Linked DNA regions of Homo sapiens: all the other regions are linked to region 1. Evidence: promoter capture Hi-C in human tissues and cell types (Jung and others, 2019). All regions are on one chromosome and are shown on one strand. Each heading gives the region's core, a stretch centred on a gene start or on the middle of the fragment in contact. The rest is flanking DNA. Distances are from core to core; before and after follow the strand shown. Region 1 holds the start of TACO1 (translational activator of cytochrome c oxidase I). Region 2 overlaps CCDC47 (coiled-coil domain containing 47). Region 3 overlaps DDX42 (DEAD-box helicase 42).

Evidence for each region. The method cuts DNA at HindIII sites, captures the fragments that hold promoters and counts their contacts. A contact is called where the count stands out against the background at its distance.
Region 2: a fragment that was not itself captured here is called in contact with the fragment with the promoter of TACO1 in region 1 in 1 of the 25 tissues and cell types used here (ovary).
Region 3: a contact is called between a fragment that was not itself captured here and the fragment with the promoter of TACO1 in region 1, in 1 of the 25 tissues and cell types used here (bladder).

The regions. Positions count from the first base shown.
Region 1 is chr17:63,599,386-63,602,843 of GRCh38, forward strand. It overlaps TACO1 (translational activator of cytochrome c oxidase I), which reads left to right and starts at 1,510. Exons shown (of 5, transcript NM_016360.4): 1 at 1,510-1,978. The coding sequence starts at 1,699. The HindIII fragment of the contact is 17,557 bases long and covers 1-3,458 here.
Region 2 is chr17:63,747,038-63,750,750 of GRCh38, forward strand. All of the region lies in intron 12 of CCDC47 (coiled-coil domain containing 47), which reads right to left. Among named protein-coding and RNA genes, the nearest start is that of STRADA, 7.1 kb to the left of the region's middle. The HindIII fragment of the contact is 4,620 bases long and covers 1-3,713 here.
Region 3 is chr17:63,797,252-63,800,455 of GRCh38, forward strand. DDX42 (DEAD-box helicase 42) reads left to right here. Exons shown (of 18, transcript NM_203499.3): 4 at 787-848; 5 at 2,338-2,374. Among named protein-coding and RNA genes, the nearest start is that of DDX42, 25 kb to the left of the region's middle. The HindIII fragment of the contact is 5,716 bases long and covers 1-3,204 here.

The DNA.
Region 1 (3,458 bases), core at 260-2,759:
ATTTAGTATTACGGTAGAAACAGATATAAACATTTTGATATTTTTTTAAAAGGTAAGTGCTAAGGTGCAAGCATGTATGAAGGGCTATGGGCACCCACCGCACCTGGCTAATTTTTGTATTTTTAGTAGAGACGGGGTTTCACCATGTTGACCAGGCTGGTCTTGAACTCCTGACCTCAAGTGATCTGCCAGCCTCGGCCTCCCAAAGTGCTAGGATTACAGGCGTGAGCCACCGCACCCAGCCCCATGGAGGTTCTTATATAATAAAAAATAAAAAATCTATGCTTTTGTGCTTTGCATCCATTATCCCATTTAGTCCTCACAAGGCCATTCTATGGTAAGGAAACTGAAACAGGAAAGTAAAGGAACTTGCCCAAGGATACACTAGAAAATGGAACAACCAGGGTTTGAAGCCACCCAGTCTAACTGCAGAGGGCACAAACTTGGACTTCACACTGTCCTGCTTCTCTCTCTCTCTCTCTCTCTTTTTTTTTTTTTTTTTTGAGTTGGATTCTCGCTCTGTCGCACAGGCTGGAGTGCAGTGGCGCGATCTCGGCTCACTGCAACCTCCTCTTCCCGGGTTCAAGCGATTCTCCTGCCTCATCCTTCTGAGTAGCTGGCATTACAGGCGCGCGCCACCACGGCCGGCTAATTTTTTTGTATTTTTAGTAGAGACGGGGTTTCACCATGTTGGTCAGACTGGTCTGGCACTCCTGACCTAGCGATCCGTCTGCCTCAGCCTCCCAAAGTGCTGGGATTACAGGCGTGAGCCACCGCGCCCGGCTGTCCTGCTTCTCTACCTGATATGTCATGCCCTTTGGACTTAATCTCACCAGCATGGGAGTCACTACAAAGCTTTTCAGCAGCTGCCGCTTTGTTTCTCTCCATCTTCTAACGGATTCGGTTTTCTCTTTCGAGACAGCAGAGAGAAAATGAAGAGGGGAGTTTAGCTCCAAAGGGCTTGTCTGATCATTCTCCCTCTCCCAAAGGCCTGTGACTCATCTGAGTCTGTCCCAAACCATCTCTTGCATCTAGGGGCTTAAGTGCACTGTGGCTATTTACATAAAACTTTATTACTTTAAAGCTCTAAGGGCTCATTTTGTGTTTCTAACTTTCCTATGTTGATAAAGCAAATATTAGATCCTTATTTATAAATAGGGAAGACGTTCAGAGAGATTAAACATTTGGGCAATTCACTTCTCTGGCAGCAGTTTCTTTCCCAGTACAATGAGGCAACAACAAAATATCATTCTGGACTTGCTCAGATTTAGGCAGCAATTTGGAAGCAAAGTCAGTTTCATAACTCAGATGTGTCTCCACTAAAACATTATGAGAAACAAAGTCCGGCGCTCTCTAGGCAACCGTGAGGGCTTGAGCACTAACTAGATCTGCTCAAGGGCAAGAGAGGAGCGAGTACCGTGCAGCCACGGAACGGACTTTGCGGGCAGTGGGGACGTGTTTTTGGAGCGAACCCGGTAAAGGAAGTGTGCTACGCCATCAAGGGCCCCCAGTCCCGGGTGCCGCGGGGACAGTGTAGGGTCATTAGCTGTTGAGCCGCCCCGGGCGGGCCCAAGCCTTTGGATCTCAGGTGACCGGCACAGGCGGCCGCGGGGTCCGGAACTGCTTGTTCCGGCAGTGGAAGAGACGCGCCGGCGTTGGCCGCTGCTGCTAGCAGCTTGAACCCCAGGGTCGGGACCGATGTCGGCTTGGGCTGCTGCCAGCCTAAGCAGGGCCGCTGCCCGATGCTTGCTGGCACGAGGCCCCGGGGTCAGGGCGGCTCCTCCGCGCGACCCCCGGCCCTCCCACCCCGAGCCCCGGGGCTGCGGTGCCGCTCCGGGCAGGACGCTGCACTTTACCGCGGCTGTCCCCGCCGGGCACAACAAGTGGTCCAAAGTCAGGCACATCAAGGGTCCGAAGGACGTCGAAAGGAGTCGCATCTTCTCCAAACTCTGTTTGAACATCCGCCTGGCAGTGAAAGGTGAGACCCTGACGGTCACCCAGCACTGGCTGCCGCTGCCCTCTCAGTGCCCGCAGCCTCGCTTGCCTCTCGGAATTGGGCCCACCTAGATCTCCGGCCCTTCACTTTGTTTTCCTTCCCCAGTACCCACCATTGCCCACCTCATAAATCCTCAAAACACCTACCCTACGTTGGAGGTTCTCACTCACTTTTCCAGACGCTGAGCATCTGGCCAGTTTGTCAGAGAGGGAGCTGCTCTTAAGAAGATAAGCCGGTAAGGTAGAAGTGACTTCATCCTAATCTAGCTGGGTACTTAATAGAAACAAGCCCTAAGAGTCAGGGCAGATGTGTGTCTCTCCTGAAGAGACAAATCAACCCCTCTGAAGTCGCCTCAAGTACCTTATTGGTTGTGGCAGGGGCACTGAGTAAAGCTATTACTTAAGTGCTTAGGCCTTAGCTTAGGCCTTAGTTTGCTTCATTAATGTTTCCCCAAGACACATTTCCTTGGAAGGTAGATTTGCAGCCATGTCTTTTCTCCCTTAGGTCGCCACACTGAAAAGGCTTTTTTTCTGTTTAGGGCCAGACATCTGTAGGAGCAAAGGAAAAGTCCTGTAGAAAGCATGGACTTTGGACTGGGCGCAGTGGCACAGCCTGTAATCCCAGGCCAGAGGCAGGCAGATCACTTGAGGTCAGGAGTTCAGGACTAGCCTGGCCAACATGGGGAAACCCTGTGTCTACTAAAAATAACAAAAAAAAAAAAAAAAAAAAACAGCTGGGCATGGTGGTGCATGCCTGTAATGCTGGCTACTCGGGAGGCTGAAGCAGGAGAATTGCTTGAACCCAGGAGTTGAAGGCTGCAGTAAGCGAGATTGCTCTACTGTACTCCATCCAGCCTGGGTGACAGAGCAAGACTCCATCTCAAAAAAAAAAAAAAAAAAAGAGAGAGAAACTGTGGACTTTGGAGTCAGGAAGACTGGTTTCTGTCACTGACTAACCTTGAACAAGTAGCTTAACTTGAGTTTCTCTGAAACAAGGATAATACCCACCTTGAGGTAGTTTATGGTTTATGGCACATCATAGGCATTCAGTTAATGTTAATTTACCCCCTCAGCTCATGCCTGGTATTTGTTTGCTTCCTTTTCTTCAAAATTCTTGATATTAAGTTCAAGCAACTTTTATTTATTTATTTATTTATTTATTTTGAGACAGAGTCTCACTCTGTCACCCAGGGTAGAGTGCAGTGGCGTGATCTTGGCCCATTGCAACCTCCACCTCCCAGGCTCAAGTGATTCTCCTGCTTTAGCCTCCGGAGTAGCTGGGACTACAAGTGTGCACCACCATGCCTGGCTAAATTTTTTTGTATTTTTAATAGAGACAGGGTTTCACCATGTTGGCCAGGCTGGTCTCGAACTCCTGACCTCAAATGATCTACCCACCTCCACCTCCCAAAGTGCTGGGATTGCAGGTATCAGCCACTGCATCCCAATGAAGTTCAACCAAC
Region 2 (3,713 bases), core at 212-2,711, 150 kb after region 1:
AAAAAAAAATCCAAATTAGAATACTGCCTATAGTATTATTCAAAAACTTAGGCTTGCACCATAACATTCTAGAAGATAGTTATAAAAATAATTGCCAATATCTACATTAGTGAATAAAAATTAAATCAACTTCAAATGAAGCAAAGGTAAACTAAAATCTCAGTTTTGAAAGAAACTACTATAATTAACCAGCCTTTGTTATTCTGGTTTGATTTTTTTCTGTACCCAGGGAACACTTAGCCTGATGTTCACCATACCATTCATGATGGCATTATATCATAAATGTATAACTGCCAGAAGATACATTCTACTTCAGTTCAATAAATTTTAAGAATCTTGTTCCATCAGGTTATTCATTGCAAATTTCTTATTAGCACAGACACCATACCTGCACATAATACTTAAATTCATAATGCTCTATTTGAGACATCATATTTATCAAATGTGATAAAAATTATCAAATTTATCATATTTTTATTTAGGAATTAGGAAGTTACATAGAAGAGTAAGAAGGTTCAGGTTATTATTACGTGGACTGATAGAAGCCTTAGAGGTCAAGTCAAAGTATGACTTCACTGTTGGCCACTAGTGGTCACACCTGATTAAAAGTTTATTTCAGCTACAATCTCAAACTTCTTATTTTTAGGGTACTGGGGTAAAAATGTGCTCAGAAATATACTCAACTGGTACAGGATGGAGAAAATAGGGAAGAAAAGAAGAAGTGCAAAGCATATATAGTTCTTCATAGTGCAACAAATTAGGTTTCAAAGGGTGATTTGTAAATTCCTGGTTTGGGAACTATTGACTGTCTTAGGTTTTTTCTTTATTTTTTTTTGAGATAGGGTCTTGCTGTGTCACCCAGGCTGGAGTGCAGTGGCACAATCTCGGGTCATTGTAGCCTCTGCCTTCCGGGTTCAAGCCATTCTCCTGCCTTAGCCTCCCGAGTAGCTGGGATTACAGGCATGTGCCACCACACCCAGCTGATTTTTGTATTTTTAGCAGAGACGGGGTTTCACCATGTTGGCCAGGCTGGTCTCAAACTCCTGACCTCAGGCAATTCACCGACTATGGCCTCCCAACGTGCTGGGATTACAGGCGTGAGCCAATGTGCCTGGCCAGGTTTTTTTTTTTGTTTGTGTTTGTTTTTGAGACAGAATTCTTGCTCTGTTGCCTGGGATGACTCTCCTGCCTCAGCCCCCGGAGTAGGTGGGATTACAGGTGTGTGCCATCATGCCCAGCTAATTTTTGTATTCTTAGTAGAGATGGGGTTTCACCATATTGGCCAGGCTGGTGTTGAACTCCTGACCTCAAGTGATCTACCTGCCTCGGCCTCCCAAAGTGTTAGGATTATAGGCATGAGCCACCGCGCCCGGCCTATCTTAGGTTTCTTTTCAATTTTTTTTTGAGGTGGAGTTTCGCTCTTGTTCCCCAGGCTGGAGTGCAATGGCGCAATCCCGACTCACTGCAACCTCTGCCTCCCAGGTTCGATCCCAATGTCCTCTTCCCATTGTCCCAACCCCTACCTTCACCACATTCACTCTTTTCCCAGCACTATCTATCCCTATCTCCCATATTACATATTACACACATGTGTAAAACTAATGATACACAGAATACAATATCATGTATAAGAAATATTGGCCGGGCGCAGTGGCTGAGGCTGGTGGGCCACTTGAGAGGTCAGGAGTTCGAGACCAGCCTGGCTAATGTGGTGAAACCTCGCCTACACTTTGGGAGGCTGAGGTGGGTGGATTACTTGAGAGATCAGGAGTTCAAGATCAGCCTGGCCAATGTGGTGAAACCTCATCTCTACTAAAAATACAAAAATTAGCCAGGTGTGGTGGCGGGCACCTGTAATCCCAGCTACTTGGGAGGCTGAGGCACGAGAATCACTTGAACCTGGGAGGCGGAGGTTGCAGTGAGCCAAGATTGTGCCACTGCATTCCAGCCTGGGCGACAGAGTGAGTTTGTCTCAAAGAAAAAAAAAAAAAAAAGATAAATATATTTATGCTAGCACATTTAAGAGATATTTATGTTAAGTCAATACACATGAAAAATGTTCAACTTCAAATAATAATTCAAAAAATAGCTGGGCGTAGTGGCTCACGCCTGTAATCCCAGCACTTTGAGAGGCCGAGGTGGGTGGATCACCTGAGATCAGGAGTTCGAGACCAGCCTGACCAACATGGTGAAACCCCATTTCTACTAAAAAATACAAAAATTAGCCGGGCATGGAGGCAGGCACCTGTAATCCCAGCTGAGGCAGGAGAATCGCTTGAACCCAGGAGGCAGAGGTTGCAGTAAGCTGAGATCATGCCATTGCACTCTGCCTGGGCAACACAGCAAGACTATGTCTCAAACAAAACAAAACAAAACAAAACAAGTGGGATACCATTTCCCCACTACCAGAATAAGGAAAAAAAAAAAAAAAAAAGACCTGGCACGGTGGCTCACGCCTGTAATCCCAGCACTTTGGGAGGCTGAAGCAGGCGGATCACGAGGTCAAGAGATTGAAACTATCCTGAACATGGTGAAACCCCATCTCTACTAAAAATACAAAAATTAGCTGAGCATGGTGGCATGTGCCTGTAGTCCCAGCTACTAGGGAGGCTGAGGCAGAAGAATCGCTTGAACCCGGGAGGTGGAGGCTGCAGCGAGCTGAGATCGCGCCACTGCACTCCAGCCTGGTGAAAGAGCGAGACTCTGTCTCAAAAAAAAAAAAAAATTAATAACTAGTTTTTGAAAAGATGTGAGTGAAGAGGAGCTCTCTGGCTGGGCACAGTGGCTCACACCTGTATTCCCAGCATATTGGGAGGCCGAAGCGGGAGGATGGCTTGAGCCCAGGAGTTCGAAGCTGCAGCGAGCTACGATTTTGCCACTGTACTCTAGCCTGGGCAACAGAGTGAGACCCTGTCTCAAAAATAAAAATAAAAATAAATTAAAAGAAAAAAAGGAGCTTTCATATCATATACTGGTAGAGGGGGTTGGGTGGGTTGTTCTATTGAGTTCACCAGATCTTTTTACAAGGTGCCCAGACCAGATACTATAAAGTGGTAGTTCAAAAAAATTAAATGATTTACATCGACAAGAAGCTTACAATCTGACTCAGGTTAAGTTTCAGGCCCCCTCTTCCTTTAACTCATTATAGTTTCAAACCTTAGAAAGAAATGTAGAACTTCCTTTTATAGAAAAATGAAAGGCATTACCTATTAATGATTCCTCTGTAGATTCTTCACATGTACATAAAAAGCCATATTTATTTATAAAGAAGACTGCATAAACACAGAGCTACATTTTCAGGGGAAAAATACCTATCACTAAACCAAGTCAAATAAAACAAAAAAATGATAAAAGGGGTAAGATGATGATGACAGGCCTGCAGTATCCTGGGCAGTTCACTCAACAGCATTAATGACACTGCTGTCAAATGCAGGCCCGCACAGCAGCTCACATTTTCTTGGACACGTGACCCCTTTGCTCCTAAGAATATTCTTCAATTATCTCAAGATTATTCTTACTAAAATTCACATCTTTCAGAACTTTGTCCTCTCCCTTTTTTTTTTTTGAGACAGGGTCTCCCTCTGTCACCCAGGCTGGAGTGCAGTGGCTCGATCCCTGCTCACTGCAACCTCTGCCTCTCAGGTTCAAGCAATTCTCCTGCCTCAGCCTCCTGAGTAGCTGGGATTACAGGCACGCGCCACCACGCCCAGCTG
Region 3 (3,204 bases), core at 117-2,616, 200 kb after region 1:
TGAGGCAGGAGAATCGCTTGAACCTGGGAGGAGGAGGTTGTGGTGAGCCAAGATGGTGCCATTGCACTCCAGCCTGGGCAACGAGAGCGAAACTCCATCTCAAAAAAAAAAAAAAAAAAGAATTGCCTATGAAAAATGTAAAAACTACACACATTTAACTCACTCCAGCCCCAAGGATTCTGATTTAGTAGATGTAGAACAGAATTTTCAGCCTTGAGACTACTGTCATTTGGCGCTGGATAATTATTTGTTGTGGGGCTTTCCTGTGTATTGTAGAATGTTTAGTAGCCATCCTCCGCCTCTAGAAACCAGTACTATCAGCTGTACCACCCCCAAAATTAAAAATGTCTCCAGACATTGCCAGATGTTGCCTAGGGGCAAAATTGTCCCAGATTGAGAGCAACCTTTCCAGAGTCAGATGTATGTGGTCTTAAGCTATACTTTGAGGAAGGCCTATCTGCCTGAATTGAAAGCACTTTATATCTGTAATTTTATCATTAACTTAAAGCAACTTAAGGTTATGTATTTGTGAAGCAAGCATTTTTGTTCATTTTTCCATGTGTGGCACATTATTACAGATAAAATTGTGCAGTCCATATACAGCCAATTTATACAGCATTTAGTTATTTCTCTTTGAAAAATAATTGTCAAAATGCAATTTGATGGCATCAAAATGCACTTGTCAAATACATAGCTAAAGCTATTATGGCACTTGTTCCAATCTAAAAATTGTTTCTTTCAGTGTTTTTAGTTGATGTCATTCTATACAGCCTTTTGTTTCATTAGGATCAGGCAGCTAGAGACATGAAGAGGCTTGAAGAAAAGGACAAGGAAAGAAAAAACGTAAAGTAAGTTGTTTTCTTCTCCCTCACAAAGGTTACGTGAAAACTGCTGAAGTATTGCAAAGTCTATTCCCCCAAAGTTTATAGAGAAAAAATATTGACGTACACTTGTGTACTTTACTTGAAGTTATTCCTGTATCTTGAATACTTTAAGAATAGAGATGGCAACAGTCTTTGCATTTGCAATAATTAAAAAGCATTCAGTTTGGTAGAATAGTATTTGGTCTTTGACTATAAATAGTTGTTTAGTAAACACAAGGAATGAATTATAGTAGAGTTTAGGGGAGCATAATTATTAAAGTTTAGGCTCATTGTTCTGAGTTTGTCGCATAATTAATATAAAATAGGTTTATGCCTATATGGTTGATTATGAGAAGTAATGGCAACTGTATCATGAAAACTATGTATAGTTGAACCTTTGAACAACACAGGTTTGAACTGCGTGAGTCCACTCATGGGGATTTTTTTCAACCAACACAGGTGGAAAAATAATATTCACAGTATAAAAACCTGTGTATAAGGAGGGCTGTAATAATACCTAATTTTATTTAGCTCCAGAGTGACATTGTGCTGTAGCAGCCATAGTCAGAACTTGAAGTACTTTATTTTCTGGGAAAGAGAAGTCTCTTTGCCTTGATGAATAAACTCCTAAGGCTTTTTCTGCCAGTCATGATTGGACTTTTTTCTCCCTGTGCTTGGCAGTCAGTGCTTCAGTCCTTTACCAGGGTTTCTGTTCCATATGGAGATTTAGCTGTGGTTTTGGTATTCACTGTATGTCATATCCCCTTCCACCTGCCCTGCACTGGTGGTGTTGCTTGCCGGTTGCCTTAGGAATAGCAAGCGCTCTAGGTTAGGCAGAAAGTCTGATTAGAAACAGATGGTTGTGGGAACTAAGCAACCATATTTTCTCTATAGCTCCTGAGACATACAGCAAGTGGTGATGGTCCCCTTCTCCATGTGAACTGTTTAAGCGTTTTATTCCCAAACTCATAAAGGAGTTAATGTAGTTTTCACTCTGTCCCCATCCCTAAGGTAACTGCTTTTGGCTGAAAACCATTTACCCTAGAGCTAGAAACTTTGGGGACAATAAGAAGGTTGTGACCTTTCTAGTATATGCCAAATACAAGATTTTTTTTTTCTTTTTAGTATGAAATACTTTTCACAACCGCATTGTTTGTTGTATGGATTCACAAAACTAGGACCATTTGGTATCTGTCTTCAGAAAGTTTTTACGTCTGATATCCTTGTTGGTAACCGCTGTTTCTAGGGGTATCATATCATCCCATTTAAAAGAAATGCAAACTGCAGATTATAGAGTGCAGCTACACATATATATAATGGGGTGGATAGTTTATAGTGTGCTCATTGCTGCTTTGTTATTATTAGTGTTGAGAGTTCCTGTGCTGTGTGGAATTCAACACTAATCTGCTGTAAGTATGGAGCTGGGTATGTGGAACATTTGCAGGGAAGTTTGTTTCTCCGCTTGTTTTTCCAGGGGTATTCGAGATGACATTGAAGAGGAAGATGACCAAGTGAGTTCCTATGCAGTATTTCTATCTTTTATTTTTATCCACAAAGTCTATACTGGGGACAAGCTAGAGCTTGCCTTCACTCAAAATGGCCATTCCTGACATTCAGCAGGGAATGTCATTTGATTTGCTCCTTTTGTACCTGTGTGACCAATTGGTAATACATAGATTCACATGGCTTTCCCCCATATTGAAGATGGAATTTTTGATCAACTGTGACATCCAAAGCAAATACGAGCTTTATTCAGCTTGCTTCTTTTTAAATCCAAAATTAATGTTTATTCTGATAAATCAAGTGGTAGAGTAGTGTGGGATCTATTGATGGCCTCTGGTAACATCTAACCTCTGTCTCTTAGTAAGTGTCCTGTTTGTGGTTCTTGTATTTCAAGCTGGAACATTAATTACTGTCCATTAGTCTCTTTTCCCCCATTGTTCAGTTGTGGAGTGATGAGAATCAGAGTGAGTGGTAGCCGTTTCCAGGTTTGTGACCTTTCTAATTAGCGTTAACTTCCAAACTTGGATTGTTAAAGCCACAGCATGTGTTCTATGGCTCTGGGCAGGGTTGATAGACACCCCACTCCAGGAAGGCTGTGGAACAGACAGATTTGTAAGTCTTCTATTAAACAAGTTGCAACATTTAATAGTACTAACTGTTTAATTCATTTCTTCTGATTGTTCTTCTGAATATTGCTATTATTAAAGGAATCATTGCTAGTAAGGATCTTGCCTTACTTGGTAGGTATGTTAACTGTGCAATTATCTGGTACACTATGTGCGCTAATTACAGGAGCAGAAACATTCTCAATTGTACTTGGGTGTGATTATGTTCTTGT